2 separate regions of the Homo sapiens genome follow, and region 2 is linked to region 1. The links are contacts of gene promoters, found by promoter capture Hi-C in human tissues and cell types (Jung and others, 2019). All regions are on one chromosome and are shown on one strand. The core of a region is centred on a gene start or on the middle of the fragment in contact, and the rest is flanking DNA. Distances in the headings are between cores, read along the strand shown.

Evidence for each region. The method cuts DNA at HindIII sites, captures the fragments that hold promoters and counts their contacts. A contact is called where the count stands out against the background at its distance.
Region 2: a fragment that was not itself captured here is called in contact with the fragment with the promoter of ZNF426 in region 1 in 1 of the 25 tissues and cell types used here (adrenal gland).

Annotation. Positions count from the first base shown.
Region 1 is chr19:9,536,801-9,544,180 of GRCh38, forward strand. It overlaps ZNF426 (zinc finger protein 426), which reads right to left and starts at 1,845. Exons shown (of 8, transcript NM_024106.3): 1 at 1,775-1,845; 2 at 1,459-1,545. It overlaps ZNF426-DT (ZNF426 divergent transcript), which reads left to right and starts at 1,866. Exons shown (of 2, transcript NR_134921.1): 1 at 1,866-2,198; 2 at 2,606-2,930. RefSeq lists enhancers at 1,151-1,886, 1,893-1,942, 2,143-2,212, 2,867-4,066. The HindIII fragment of the contact is 15,089 bases long and covers 1-6,166 here.
Region 2 is chr19:9,343,587-9,350,966 of GRCh38, forward strand. It overlaps ZNF559 (zinc finger protein 559), which reads left to right. Exons shown (of 7, transcript NM_032497.3): 7 at 1-2,285. All of the region lies in intron 6 of ZNF559-ZNF177 (ZNF559-ZNF177 readthrough), which reads left to right. It also overlaps the pseudogene UBXN2AP1. Among named protein-coding and RNA genes, the nearest start is that of ZNF177, 16 kb to the right of the region's middle. The HindIII fragment of the contact is 7,820 bases long and covers 1-7,201 here.

The DNA.
Region 1 (7,380 bases), core at 595-3,094:
TTTCATAGTATTTATCTGGTTAATTTTTTTCCACCAAAGTTTGGTTTTATTTGGCTGGGCAGGGTGGCTCACGCCTGTAATCCCAGCACTTTGGGAGCCTGAGGCCAGAAGATCATGAGGTCAGGAGTTCAAGACCGGCCTAACCAACACGGTGAAACTCCATCTCTACTAAAAATACAAAAATTAGCCGGGCGTGGTGTGCGGCTGTAATCCCAGCTACTCAGGAGGCTGAGGCAGGAGAATCGCTTGATCCTGGGAAATGGAAGTTGCAGGGAGCTGAGATCACACCACTGCACTCCAGCCTAGGTGACAGAGCAAGACTCTGTCTCAAAAAAAAAATAATAATAATAATAATGACAATCATTAATTAATCAAACATGAAACAGTGGCTCAAACAATCACCTACAGAATGGGAGTCAAATGATGATAAACAGTGAAAGTTCCGCAGTTCATTATCCATGAACCAAATTCACAAAAACTCTATAGGCCTCCTTCTACCAATAAGACTAAAACCCTAAAGTCACAAAAACCACAGTTCTGGACTCCTGGTATAGATCACACCTACTCCCAGGGGTCTCAAACTAGGGGTCCTAGGGCTGACTAGGCCCACAAATATTCAGTTTGGTGGCATCTGTATAGAATATTTAACTCTTTTTTTTTTTTTTTTTTTGGAGAGATGGAGTCTTGCTATGTTGCCCAGGCTGGTCTTAAACTCCTGGGCTCAAGAGATCTTCCTGCCTCAGCCTCTCAAAGTGCTGGGATCACAGGTGTGAGCCACTGTACCCAGCCAGCTTTTTTTTTTTTTCATTGATATACAATCAATGTAGCTTAAAATGCACACATCCTTCGTTTCTCTTTTTTTTCTTTTGAGACGGAGGCTCACTCTGTCTCCCAGGCTGGAGTGCAGTGGCACGATCTCAGCTCACTGCAACGTCCGCCTCCTGGGTTCAAGTGATTCTCCTGCCTTAGTCTCCCAAATAGCTGAGATTCCAAGACCCCACCACCACGCTCGGCTAATTTTTTTTCTATTTTTAGTAGAGACGGGGTTTCACCATCTTAGCCAGGCTGGTTTCAAACTCCTTAATCCAACCATCCTGTTCATTGTAAATTTGATTATTGTGATACTAGAATAATAAAGCCTTCATCCTTTCCCTCTGGAGGTCTGATTAAGAAGCTCTCTTGGGATGTACAGGCCTAGGAACTCCATTCGAAGATAATGAATTATTATTCTTAGTATTCTTTAGCAGAAAGACTTGCGGTCTACAAACGTTTATATTCACATACACAAATACGCACACCCTATAAACCTAAAAAGCATCTTTATCTTTCGCCATGAAAGTAATGGTCAAAAATAAAACACAACACAATAAGACGAAACCAAACTTACAGATGAAACATTCGTTTGCATAAGAGAAGACAGAAAAGGCCCCCTAGAACCAACTTTCACCCAGTGCTCACCGGAACACTCAGAAATCGCCAGGTCCCTGAACCGGGAAGATCCTGGGGACGGAGCCAACGCGGATGCAAAAGGCAGCAATTATTTTCCTGCCGGAAAAAAATTCACAAACGCTGCTTTGGAGGCCTTTGGAGAGGGGCGCACAGATGAAAACACCCTGCGGACACCGTAACTATAAACCCGACTCCTCCCGAGGAGCGACGGTCCGAGCGGACGCTAGCGGGCCCAGCAGACACGAGCAGAGCGGGCCAGGCCTCTCTAACGTCCGGGCCAAACCCGTCCTTCACCCCAAAACCAGTTCATCTCCTCGGAACTCACCCAGGCCAGTGAGGCCTTAACTCTGAAAGGCAAAAAGACTCTCAGGCGCTCACAGCCGGCGTCACAAAAGGAACGGCGCACCGCTGACGTCATTTACGCTCTCCGCCTCGGGCCAGGCGGGGTTTCGGGACTAGGGTTTCTGCCGTGTAATACCTCCTCGAGGCAGAAAAATTCTACTTTCCATCTGCTTGGCTGCGGAGGACCTTGGGGTGGGCTCAGCGTGGGGGCTGCAGGCAGAAATGGGTCCAGAAGGCAAGGTCGAGGTTAGAGCCAAGCCTGTGGGCAGGGCTACGGGCAGGGGGCGGGGAGGAATGTGGGTCCAGGCCCAGAGGAAAAGGTTGAAGTTATAGCCAGGCCTGTGGGCGAGGCCGCAGCAGGGCGGCCATAGGGGAAGGAGCCAATGTGTTATGCATGTAGAAAATAGGTAACTACGTCTTTTGCTCTGTTACTATTTCAACATTTGATGTAAAAAACATTTTCTATGCAGCTAAAAGAATTGTTTTTAAAAATAATTTCTAGGTTTTCTGCCTTGCTTTAAAACATCTTTTCTTTTTTTTTGAGACAAAATCTCACTCTGTCACCAAGGCTGGAGTTCAGTGGAGCCATCTCAGCTCACTGCAACCTCCACCTCCCAGGTTCAAGCGATTCTCCTGCCTCATCCTCCCAAGTAGCTGGAATTACAGGTGCATGCTGCCACACCCTGCTAATTTTTGTATTTTTAGTAGAGGCAGGGTTTTGCCATGCTGGCCAGGCTGGTCTTGAACTACTTGTCAGGCCTCTGAGCCCAAGTTAAATCATCATAAACCCTGTCACCTGCACGTATACATCCAGATGGCCTGGAGCAACTGAAGAACCACAAAAGAAGTGAAACAGCCAGTTCCTGCCTTAACTGATGACGTTCCACCATTGTGATTTGTTGCTGCCCCACCCCAACTGATCTCTTGACCTTGTGACATTCTTCTTCTGGACGAGTCTCAGGAGTTCCCCACCGAGCACCTTGTGACCCCCGGCCCTGCCAGCAAAAGATAACCACCTTTAACTTTCCACTACCTACCCAAATCCTATAAAACTGCCCCACCCCTATCTCCCTTTGCTGACCCCTTTCTCGGACTCAGCCCACTTGCACCCAAGTGAATAAACAGCCTTGTTGCTAACACAAAGCCTATTGGTGGTCTCTTCACATGGATGTGTGTAACATTTGGTTCCGAAACCTGGGACAGGGGGACTCCCTTGGGAGACTGGCCCCGTCCTCACCCTCACTCCGTGAGGAGCTCCACCTACTACCTCGGGTCCTCAGACTAGCCCAAGGAACATCTCACCAATTTCAAATTGGGTAAGCAGTCTCTTCACTCTCTTCTCCAGCCTCTCTCACTACCCTTCCATCTCTCTGTCCTTCCAATTCCAGTTCTTTTTCCTCTCCAGTAGAGACAAAGGAGACACATTTTATCTGTGGACCCAAAACTCCAGCTCCAGTCACGGACTCAGGAAGACAGTCTTTCCTTGGTGGCTAATCACTGTAGGGATACCTGCCTGATTATTCACCTACATTCCATTGGTGTCTGATCACTGTGGGGATGCCTGCCTTGATCATTCACCCACATTCCCTTGGTGGCAAGTCAATTGCAGGGCTGCCTGCTTTGGCTGCTTACCCACATTACAGCCCAGGGCTGCTCACCCCCACCCCACTCCACTGCCTTCTCCATGTCTCTACCTTTCTCTTTAAACTTACCTCCTTCACTATGGGCAATCTTCTGCCCTCCATTCCCTGTTCTTCTCCCTTAGCCTGTGTTCTCAAGAACTTAAAACCTATTCAACTCACACCTGACCTAAAACCTAAATACCTTATTTTCTTCTGCAACACCACTTGGCCCCAGTACAAACTTGACAATGGTTCTAAATGGCCAGAAAATGGCACTTTTGATTTCTCCATCCTACAAGATCTAGATAATTTTTGTCATAAAATGGGCAAATGGTCTGAGATGCCTGACATCCAGGCATTCTTTACACATTGGTCCGTCCCTAGTCTTTGCTCCCAATGTGACTCATCCCAAATCTTTCTTGTTTCTTTCTTGTCCTTTGAATCCTCCTTTTCTATGGACCCATCTGACCTCTCCCCTCCCCCTCAGGCTGCTCCTCGCCAAGCTGAGCCAGGTCCTAACGTATCCAGAATTGGTGGGTTCTTGGTCTCACTGACTTCAAGAATGAAGCCGTGGACCCTCGCGGTGAGTGTTACAGTTCTTAAAGGCGGCGTGTCTGGAGTTTGTTCCTTCTGATGTTCGGATGTGTTCAGAGTTTCTTCCTTCTGGTGGGTTTGTGGTCTCGCTGGCTCAGGAGTGAAGCTACAGACCTTTGCGGTGAGTGTTACAGCTCTTAAAGGCAGCATGGACCCAAAGAGTAAGCAGTAGCAAGATTTATTGCAAAGAGCAAAAGAACAAAGCTTCCACAGCGTGGAAGGGGACCCAAGGGGGTTGCCACTGCTGGCTCAGTAGCCTGCTTTTATTCTCTTATCTGGCCCTACCCACATCCTGCTGATTGGTAGAGCCGAGTGGTCTGTTTTGACAGGGTGCTGATTGGTGTGTTTACAAACCTTGAGCTAGATACAGAGTGCCAATTGGTGTTTCCACAATCCCTGAGCTAGACATAAAGGTTCTCCACATCCCCACCAGACTCAGGAGCCCAGCTGGCTTCACCCAGTGGATCCCGCACTGGGGCTGCAGGTGGAGCTGCCTGCCAGTCCCGCGCCATGTGCCCGCACTCCTCAGCCCTTGGGTGGTTGATGGGACTGGGCACCATGGAGCAGGGGGGAGCTCTCATCAGGGAGGCTCGAGCTGCACAGGAGCCCATGGAGGGGGTGGGAGGCTCAGGCATGGCGGGCTGCCAGTCTTGAGCCCTGCCCTGTGGGAAGGCAGCTAAGGCCTGGCGAGAAATCAAGCGCAGCACCAGTGGGCTGGCACTGCTAGGGGACCCAGTACACCCTGTGCAGCTGCTGGCCTGGGTGCTAAGCCCCTCATTGCCTGGGGCCAGCAGGGCCGGCCAGCTGCTTCGAGTGCAGCCGCCAAGCCCACGCCCACCTGGAACTCCAGCTGGCCCGCAAGCACCATGCACAGCCCCAGTTCCCGCTCGCGCCTCTCCCTCCACACCTCCCTGCAAGCTGAGGGAGCTGGCTCCAGCCTTGGCCAGCCCAGAAAGGGGCTCCCACAGTGCAGCAGTGGGCTGAAGGGCTCCTCAAGTGCCGCCAAAGTGGAAGCTCAGGCAGAGGAGGCGCCAAGAGTGAGCGAGGGCTGTGAGGACTGCCAGCACGCTGTCACCTCTCACTAATTCTTCCTCAGCCTCTGCTCCCTACCCTGTGATCTTTCTATCACCTCCCCTTCTCACACCCGGTCCAGCTTACAGTTTCATTCCATGACTAGCCCTCCCCCACCTGCCCAACAATATCCTCTTAGAGAAGTGGCTGGAGCTGAAGGCATAGTCGAGGTTAATGCTCCTTTTTCTTCATCCAACCTCTCCCAAGTCAGTTAGCATTTAGGCTCTTTTTCATCAAGTATAAAAACCCGGCCCAGTTCATGGCCTGTTTGGCAACAACCCTTAGACAGTTTACCACCCTAGAACCAGAGAGGCCAGAAGGCCATCTTATTCTCAATATGCATTTTATTCTCAATATGCATTTTATTACCCAATCTGCTCCCAAGACTAGAAAAAGCTCCAAAAATTAGATTCTGACCCTCAACCCCCACAACAGGACTTAATTAACCTCACCTTGAAGGTGTACAATAATAGAGAAGAGGCAGCCAAGTGGCGTTGTATTTCTGAGTTGCAATTACTTGCCTCTGCTGTGAGATAAACCCCAGCCACATCTCCAGCACATAAGAACTTCAAAATGCCTAAACCACAGAGGCCAGGTGTTCCTCCAGGACCTCCTCCCTCAGGTTCTTGCTTTAAGTGCTGGAAATCTGGCCACTGGGCCAAGGAATGCCCGCAGCCCAGGATTCCTCCTAAGCCATGTCCCATCTGTGGGACCCCACTTGAAATCGGACTGTCCAACTCACCTGGCAGCCACTACCAGAGCCACTGGAACTCTGGCCCAAGGCTGTCTGACTGACTCCTTCCCAGATCTTCTCGGCTTAGCAGCTGAAGACTGACACTGCCCGATCACCTCGGGAGCCTCCTGGACTATCACAGATGCTTTGGGTAACTCTTACAGTGGAGGGCAAGTCTGTCCCCTTCTTAATCAATACAGAGGCTACCCACTCCACATTACCTTCTTTTCAAGGGCCTGTTTCCCTTGCCTTCATAACTGCCGTGGGTATTGATGGCCAGGCTTCTAAACCTCTTAAAAATCCCCAACTCTGGTGCCAACTTGAACAACTTTCTTTTATGCACTCTTTTTAGTTATCCCCACCTGCCCAGCTCCCTTATTAGGTCAAGACATTTTAACTAAATTCTCTGCTTCCCTCACTATTCCTGGGCTATAGCCACACCTCATTGCCACCCTTTTCCCCAGTTCAAAGCCTCCTTTGCCTCCTCCCCTTGTGTCTCACTACCTTAATCCACAAGTATGGGATACCTCTACTCCCTCCTTAGCAACTGATCATGCACCCCTTATCATCCCTTGGGGGTAAAACCTAATCACCCTTACCCTGCTCAATGCCAATATCCCATCCCACAACAGGATTTGAGGGGACTAAAGCCTGTTATCACTTCCCTGTTACAGCATGACCTTTTAAAGCCTACAAACTCTCCTTACAACTCTCCTATCCTACCTGTCCAAAAACTGGACAAGTCTTACAGGCTGGTCCAGGATCTTTGCCTTATCAACCAAATTGTCTTGCCTATCCACCCCATGGTGCCAAACCCATATACTCTCCTATCCTCAATACCTCCCTCCTCAACCCATTATTCTGTTCTGGATCTCAAAGATGCTTTCTTTACTATTCCTTTACACCCTTAATCCCAGCCTCTCTTCACTTTAACTTGGACTGACCCTGACACCCGTCAGTCTCAGCAACTTACCTGGGCTGTACTGCTGCAAGGCTTCAGGGACAGCCCCCGTTACTTCAGTCAAGCACTTTCTCATGATTTACTTTCTTTCCATCCATCTGCTTCTCACCTTATTCAATATTTTGATGACCTCCTACTTTATAGCCCCTCCTACAAATCTTCCCAACAGGACACCCTCCGGCTCCTCCAACATCTATTCTCAAAGGGATATCGCGTATCCCCCTCAAAATCCCAAATTTCTTCTTCATCCGTTACCTATCTCGGCATAATTCTTCATAAAAACACACGTGCTTTCCCTGCTGATCATGTCTGGCTAATCTCCCAAACCCCAATGCCTTCTACAAAACAACAACTCCTTTCCTTCCTAGGCATGCTTGGGTACTTTCACCTTTGGATACCTGGTTTTGCCATCCTGACTAAACCATTATATAAACTCACAAGGAAACCTAGCTGGCCCCATAGATCCTAAATCCTTTCCCCACTCCTCTTTCCATTCCTTAAAAACAGCCCTGGAAGCTGCTCCCACACTAGCTCTCCCTAACTCATCCCAACCCTTTTCATTACACACAGCCAATGTACAGAACTGTGTGGTTGGAATTCTTACACAA
Region 2 (7,380 bases), core at 2,042-4,541, 190 kb before region 1:
TAGCTTCCACTTTGGGAACATGTCAAAGCACACATTGAGAAGTCCCATGAGTGAAAGAGATGTTGGAAAGCCCTTGAACTTGGTCGTTAGGAAACATCCACACTGAAGAGGAACCTGACTGTATGGAAGGTCAAAAAGGCTGTATTAATTTACATGCAAAAAGTCACACTAGAGGAATGCCATATCAGAATGCTTTTGGTAAATATACATGTTTTAAAGAGGTTATATATCATTAATAAAAATATCTAGCTGGTCTGAAGATCCTGAGTTATCTCAATTGTTCACGGTTACAGATGGAACTCTTTATTATTGAGGAGTTCCACTCTTTCCCCCATTTGTCACTACTACACTTCCCTAGTCTTTAAAACAATTTTAGGCTGGGTGCAGTGGCTCATTCCTGTAATCCCAGCACTTTGAAAGGCCGAAGCGAGTGGATCATTTGAGGTCAGGAGTTCGAGACCAGCCTGGCCAACGTGGTGAAACCCCATCTCTACTAAAAATACAAAAATTAGCCAGGCATGGTGGTACGTGCCTGTAATCCCAGCTACTCGAGAGGTTGAGGCAGAATTGCTTGAACCCGGGAGGCGGAAGCTGCAGTGAGCTCAGATCACGCCACTGCACTCCAGCCTGGATGATATGGTAAGACCATCTCAAAAAAAGAAAAAAAAATTAAAATATCCTCAGAGGGTTTTTTAATGAAAAACTTAGTTATAGGGAATTGAGGAACATTTAGGGGTACAAATTTTCACTTATTGCACACAAGAAAATTGGTACTGGCCAGGCATGCTGGCTCACACCTTAATTCCAGCAATTTGGGAGGCCAAGGCAGAAGGATCACTTGAGCCCAGGAGTTCAAGACCAGCCTGGGCAATATAGTGAAACCTCATCTTGACAAAGAATAAATAAGATTAACTGGGTGTACTGGTTTGTGCCTATAGTCCCAGCTATTTAGGAGGCTGGGGCAAGAGGATTGCTTGAGCCTGGTCAGGGAGGCAGAGGTTGCAGTGAGCCCTGATCGTGCCACTACACTCTAGCCTGGGCAACAGGATGAGACCCTGTCTCAAAAAAAAAAGAAAATTGACGCCAGCAAAGAAAACCAAATAAATTATTTAAGTTTGCCTTTCTATATGTCTTTAAAGACTAATGATATTGAACATCACTTTCATATGCTTATGAGTCTTTGGTGAAGTGTACATTTAATGATCTTTTTTCACTGTTGCTGAGAATCTTTGGTTTGAATTATTGAGGCAGGTTCTTTCAGTAAGTTTGAGATATAATTGCCATGTAATAAACTGCACATGTTTTTAGCATACACTTTAAGTTTGGACACATACACATATGTGTACATACACACCATCAAGATAATGAACATACCTATCAAACCAGATGGTTTCCTCATGCCCTTTTATAATTTCTTCTTCTCCTCACCCTTCCCTGCCTGTCACTCTCCTGATCCACTGATTTGCTTTCTCTTAGAATAGACGACTTTATATTATGTACAGTTTTTATATAAATGGAATCATATAGTCTGGCATCTTTCAGGATAATTTTTTCAGATCCATTTATGTTGTAGGGTCCATTTCACTGCTGAATAGTATTCCATTGCAAGGCATACCACAAGCTATTTATCCATGTGTTATTTCTACCTTTTGGCTATTGCAATTAAAACTGCCTTGAATACCCATATGCAGATTATTCTTTAAACATGTGCTTCTGTTTCTTTAAATAGTTAAGAGTGGAATGATCAGATCATATGTTAGTGTACGTTTAAGTTTTTAAGAGACTGCTAAACCTTTCTCAAGTAGTTATGCCATTTGACATTTCCATGAGCAGTATATAAGAGTTGCAATTCTTCTGCATCCTTGCCAATTATTGGTATGGTCAGTCTTTTTTATTTTGACCATTTTAATAGGTGTGTAGTAGTATCTCATGGTTTTAATTTGCATTTCCCTAGTGACTAATGATGTCTTACATGGTTTCACGTGCTTACTGGCCTTCTTTAAGCCTTTGGGGAAGAGTCTGTTCAAATCTTTTGCCTGTTTATATTGGCTTTATTTTTTATTTATTTTTATTTTTTTTTATATAGAGACAGGGTTTTACTCTGTCTCCCAGGCTGAAGTGCGTGGCACGATCATGTGGTTTTGCAATATTTATTGAATTTTGAGAGTTTAAAATTTGTAATATATTTAATATTAAACCTATTAGTGTATTTGATATTAATACTTTATATTTAATATAATGTACATTTAAATATATAATAAAACATTTCATTTTAACAGAGGTAACATAAATACACTTCCCAATTTATGGAGTTTGACTTAGTATTGTTTTTAATTTACAATGGTGCAAACATATTATGCATTCAATATGTTTCTCAATTTATGATGGGGTTACAAATTGTCAACTTATGATAGTTTCAACTTACAATAGGTTTGTCAGGACATAGCCCTGTCATAAGTTGAGGAGTATCTGTATTACAATATATTTAATATGTTGTACTTGTGGTACAAGTACATGGTGCACTTTGAGTTAAAATCTTTATATGGCACAAAGATTGGATCAAAATTTGGGGTTTTTTTTTTCTTTGTATCTCATTGTTCTAGCATCATTTATTGAAAAGACTATCCTTTCTCCACTTAATTGCCTTTGCTTCTTTCTTGAAATATTGGTTGTCTTTATACGTGTGTCTGCTTCTCAACTGTTCTGTTCCATATAGCTACTTATCTTTTATTCCAAGACTACCCTCTCTTGACAACTTCATAACTTTTGAAGTCCGATAGAGTTTAGTCTTCCAGCTTTTTCTTTTCAGAGTTGTCTTTACTATTTTAGGTCAGAGGTTGGCAAAGTTTTTTATAAAAGACCAGATTGTAGAGATTTTAAGCTTTACATGCTATATATAGTTTCTGTTGCATATTATTTTTTCTATTACAGACCTTTTAAAATATAAAAATAGTTCTCACATTCCATTCAACCTATACAGTTATAGGCTGTGAGCCACATTTGGTCTTGATGTGGCTGTACCTTGTTGACTTACAGCTGTTACAGGACTTTCGTATTTCCATATAAAGTTTAGAATCAGGTTGTCAATTTCTACCAGCACCACCCCACACCCCCAAAGTAATTCACTAAGATTTTGATTATCATTGTGTTGAATCTGCAGAATAATTGATGTCTTCACAATATTGAGCATTTCAACCCATGAACATAATATATCTCTCCACTTATTTAGGATTTATAATTTTTTTCTCAGTAGTATTTGTGTTTTTCGGTGTTTGGGTCTTCCTAGGCATTTTTTCTCTGACACTATTGCAAATGGTATTTTAAAAATTTCAATTTCTCTGCTAGTTCACTACTACTATAGAGGAACACAGTTTTTTTACATATATTCATCTTGTATGCTGCACCCTTGTTAATTTGTTCTGGAAGATTTATATTAACATTATACTTAGAATATATTAACATTATAATAAGCTACATAATTTTATTTTTTTATTTTTTAAATTAAAATAGAGATTGGGGTCTCACTATGTTGACCAGTCTTGAACTCCTGGCTTCAAGCGATCCTCCCATCTTGGCCTCCCAAAGTGTTGGGATTACAGGCGTGAGCCACTGAACCTGGCCACAATTTTATTCTTAAATGAAAATAGATCTTTGATATCATCGCCAGATTCATATTTGTTTTTTGTTTTCTTGAGATGGAGTTTTGCTCTTGCTGCCCAGGCTGGAGTGCAGTGGTGCCATCTTGGCTCACTGCAACTTCCACCTCCCAGGTTTAAGTGATTCTCCTGCCTCAGCCTCCCGAGTAGCTGGGATTACAGGCACCCGCCTCCACCCCCAGCTAATTTTTGTATTTTTAGTAGAGACGAGGTTTCGCCATGTTGGCCAGGCTGGTCTTGAATTCCTGACCTCAGGTGATCCACCCACCTCGGCCTCCCAGAGTGTTGGGATTACAGGCATGAGCCATCACGCCCAGCTACCAAATTAATATTCAAATATATGTTGCCATTACAGAGTGATAACTAAGGACACTTTGAGGTATAGGCATAGCTGTGGTAAAAACAGCTCTCTCCAGCTTTGCATCTAAGTTGTAAAATAATTACATTGATGCTTTTAAACCTGCCATGTATAATTTTTCAATGTATTAGCCATTTAATAACTCTGAGACAGCTAACATTTAAATAAATCCCTGTTTGGGAATGGTATTTGAACAAATAATATTGTGAACATATTTGCCAATTTATACTATATTAAGATTCTAAATAATACAGCTATTTAATATATCTTGATAATTAGTATTTGAAATAAATATATTTCTCTGAGTAGCCTTTTGGAAAAAGTGCACAGAATATAGTTTCCAGTCATATGCTACTTTTCTAACTTGCACTTATCTAAACATTTCATCAGGAGAGAGTTCAATAGTACCCGAACCAAAAGTCCAGTGAATCTGACTTACCCAGTCCCCAATTTGGTTTGCATGTCTGCTTACAACCATCATTTCTCTGCAGATTTTCCACTTAGTCTATCAAAAATCAATGGTGCAGCAGTTTTTTGGAGTCTCTGACAACAAAACTCTGTAAATCTGCTTCTTCCAGTGTGAGTGTCTCATCTAACAATCTGAGGATAGGACAAACTGTTGCCAGGGACAGGGGAGGACTTCTTTTGAGATCCTTGGTAGTTTTCAATGAAGTCTTTGATATGGCTTACCCTTCCTACTTGGTGACCCTGTCCTGAAAAGAGCTGGAAGACAGGCTTCGTAGACATATATGTTTCATTTTTCTTGTCTTCAACTTTAACACCCACCTCTTTATCAAAAATTCCCTGTAATTCTGAAGGTAATTCCCCCTTTTTGATGGAGTTCAGAAACTGCTGACTTGCACCATTTGAATAACTTCTGAAATAATTGTTGACGGTGAATCCATTTTTCCATAATTTTATGTTTACGTCTACCTGTTTCTTTTGTTAAGTGGGAGACAAGCATTTGGAACCAACCTTCTGAGCTTCCTCAAAAAGGCTATCAACAAACTATTCACAATTTGTTTATTGATTATCACCAAGACCTTGATTGTCAGGTCCTGTTTCACAAACCCAGTCTTTTATACTTTCGAGATTATCTACGTCTTTCATTCTCTTTTGCGTTACTCCGAGCACAGCCTCCAAGCCTAGGCCTCACTCAGCTCAGGAGCCACCAGCACTGTTTGGCTGCGAGCTCCGTTTGGCTGGAGCCCTTCAGACCCGGAGCGCCTCGCCCGAGACCACCTCCGGTACCCCGGCTGCGCTGCTGATATCCCGCCGGCCTCTCTGTCTCCACCAAGTGCCAAGCGTTCACCCACGCCTGCTGCCTGCAAGACCTGAGGAACGCGCATGGGCTTTTTTTTTTTAAGACAAGTTTCACTCTGTATCCCAGGCTAGAGTGCAGTGGCATGAGCTTGGCTCACTGCAACCTCCGCCTCTCGGGGTCAAGCGATTCTTGTGCCTCACCTTCTGGAGTAACTGGGACTACACGCGTGCACCACCACACCCAGCTAAATTTTTCTGTATTTTTAGTAGAGCCAGGGTTTCGCCATGTTGCCCAGGCTGGTCTAGAACTCCTAGGTTCAAGCGATCCACCTGCCTCGGCCTCCCAAAGTGGTGGGATTATAGACGTGAGCCACCGCACCCAGCTTCTGGCAGCTTTTTAGTAGGTTCTATCATATTTTCTACTAGGACAATTCTGTTGTCTGCATATAAAATTTTTTACTTCTTCCTTTCCAATCTGTATGCGTTTTGTATTTTTCTTGTTACATTAACCAGAACCTGCAGTGTATTGTTAAATAGAAATTGAGAGACTAGACATTCTTGTCTTGTTTCTGGTCTTGGGAGTAAATCATTGAATCTTTTACCATTTAGTAACTATCTTTTTAATCTTTTTTTTGATAACACCTATTGGGTGGGAAACAGTATTTGTAGTTTTTTATTTTTATTTCCCTGGTGGCTAAAGATTTTTATTATTTTTTTTTTCTGGGCTTAGCTCGCCTGAAAACTAAAGATATTGATCATCTTTTCATCAGTTTGTTGACTATGTATCTGTCTTCTTTGGGAGAATGTCTATTTAGATCCTTTGCCATTTTTAAATTGAGTTCTTTTCATTATTGGGTTTCAAGAGCCCTATAAATTCTAGGTACAAATACCATATCAAATAAATCGTTTACAAGTATTTTCTTTCATTCTTTGTGTTGTCCTTTCACTTTCTTGATGATATCCTTTCGAGTGTAAAAGTTTTAAGTTTATTTTTTTCTTATGCTTTTGGTGTCAAATCTGAGAAACCATTGCCTAACCCAAGGTCGTGAAGTCTTTTATATTTTCTTCTAGGATTTTTATAGTTCTAGCTCTTAAAGTTAGTTCTATGATCCATTTTGAACTAATATTTGTGCATGCTGTGAACAGTGTATCCAGCTTCATTCTTCTGCATGTAACACCCAGTTACCCTAGCATATGTGTTGAAAAGACTGTTTATCCCATTGAATTGTCTTGGCACTCTTGTCAAAAATCAGTTAACCATAAATGTAAAGGCTTATTTATTTGTTTTGAGACTGGGTCCTGCTCTGTTAACCCAGGTTGGAGTGCTGTGGTGTGATCTTGGCTCACTGCAGCCTTGACCTCCCAGGCTCAAGTGATCCTCCTCCTTGAGCTTCCCAAGTAGCTGGGACTACAGGTATACACCACCACGCCTGGCTAATTTTTGTATTTCTTGTAGAGACAGGGTTTCATTTTGTTGCCCAGACTGGTCTTGAACTCCTGGGCTCAAGCAATCCTCCTGCCTCTGTCTCCCAAAGTGCTGGGATTACAGATGTGAGCCACTGTGCCCAGCATTAAGATTTATTTCTAGACTCTCAGTTCACCTCCATTGTACATGTCTAACCTGTTTGTAACCACACTGTCCTGATTACTGTAGCTTTAGAGTAATTTTTGAAATTGGGAAGTGCGAGCCCTTCTGTGATCCTTTTTGCAATGCACGGGTTAAGGTTACTTTTGGAGGTGGTAGAAGGGATACGAATGTTTTAATTTTTTTTTGCACGACAGTTGGTTGAAAACAGTCTTTTCTCTATTGGATTATTTGTACCTTTTTTGAAAATGAAATTGATGACTTATGTTTAAATCTATTTCTGGGATCTATTCCGTTTCAGCTAATCTATGTGTCTGTCCTTTTGCTAATACTACACTTTTTTTTTTTGAGACAGAGTCTCACTGTATCACCCAGACTGGAGTGCAGTGGTACCATCTCAGCTCACGGCAGCTTCCACCTCCCAGGTTCAAGCAATTCTTGTGCCTCAGCCTCCCGAGTAGCTGGGACTTGTGCCTGAGCCTCCCAAGTAGCTGAGACTATAGGTGCGTGCCACCACA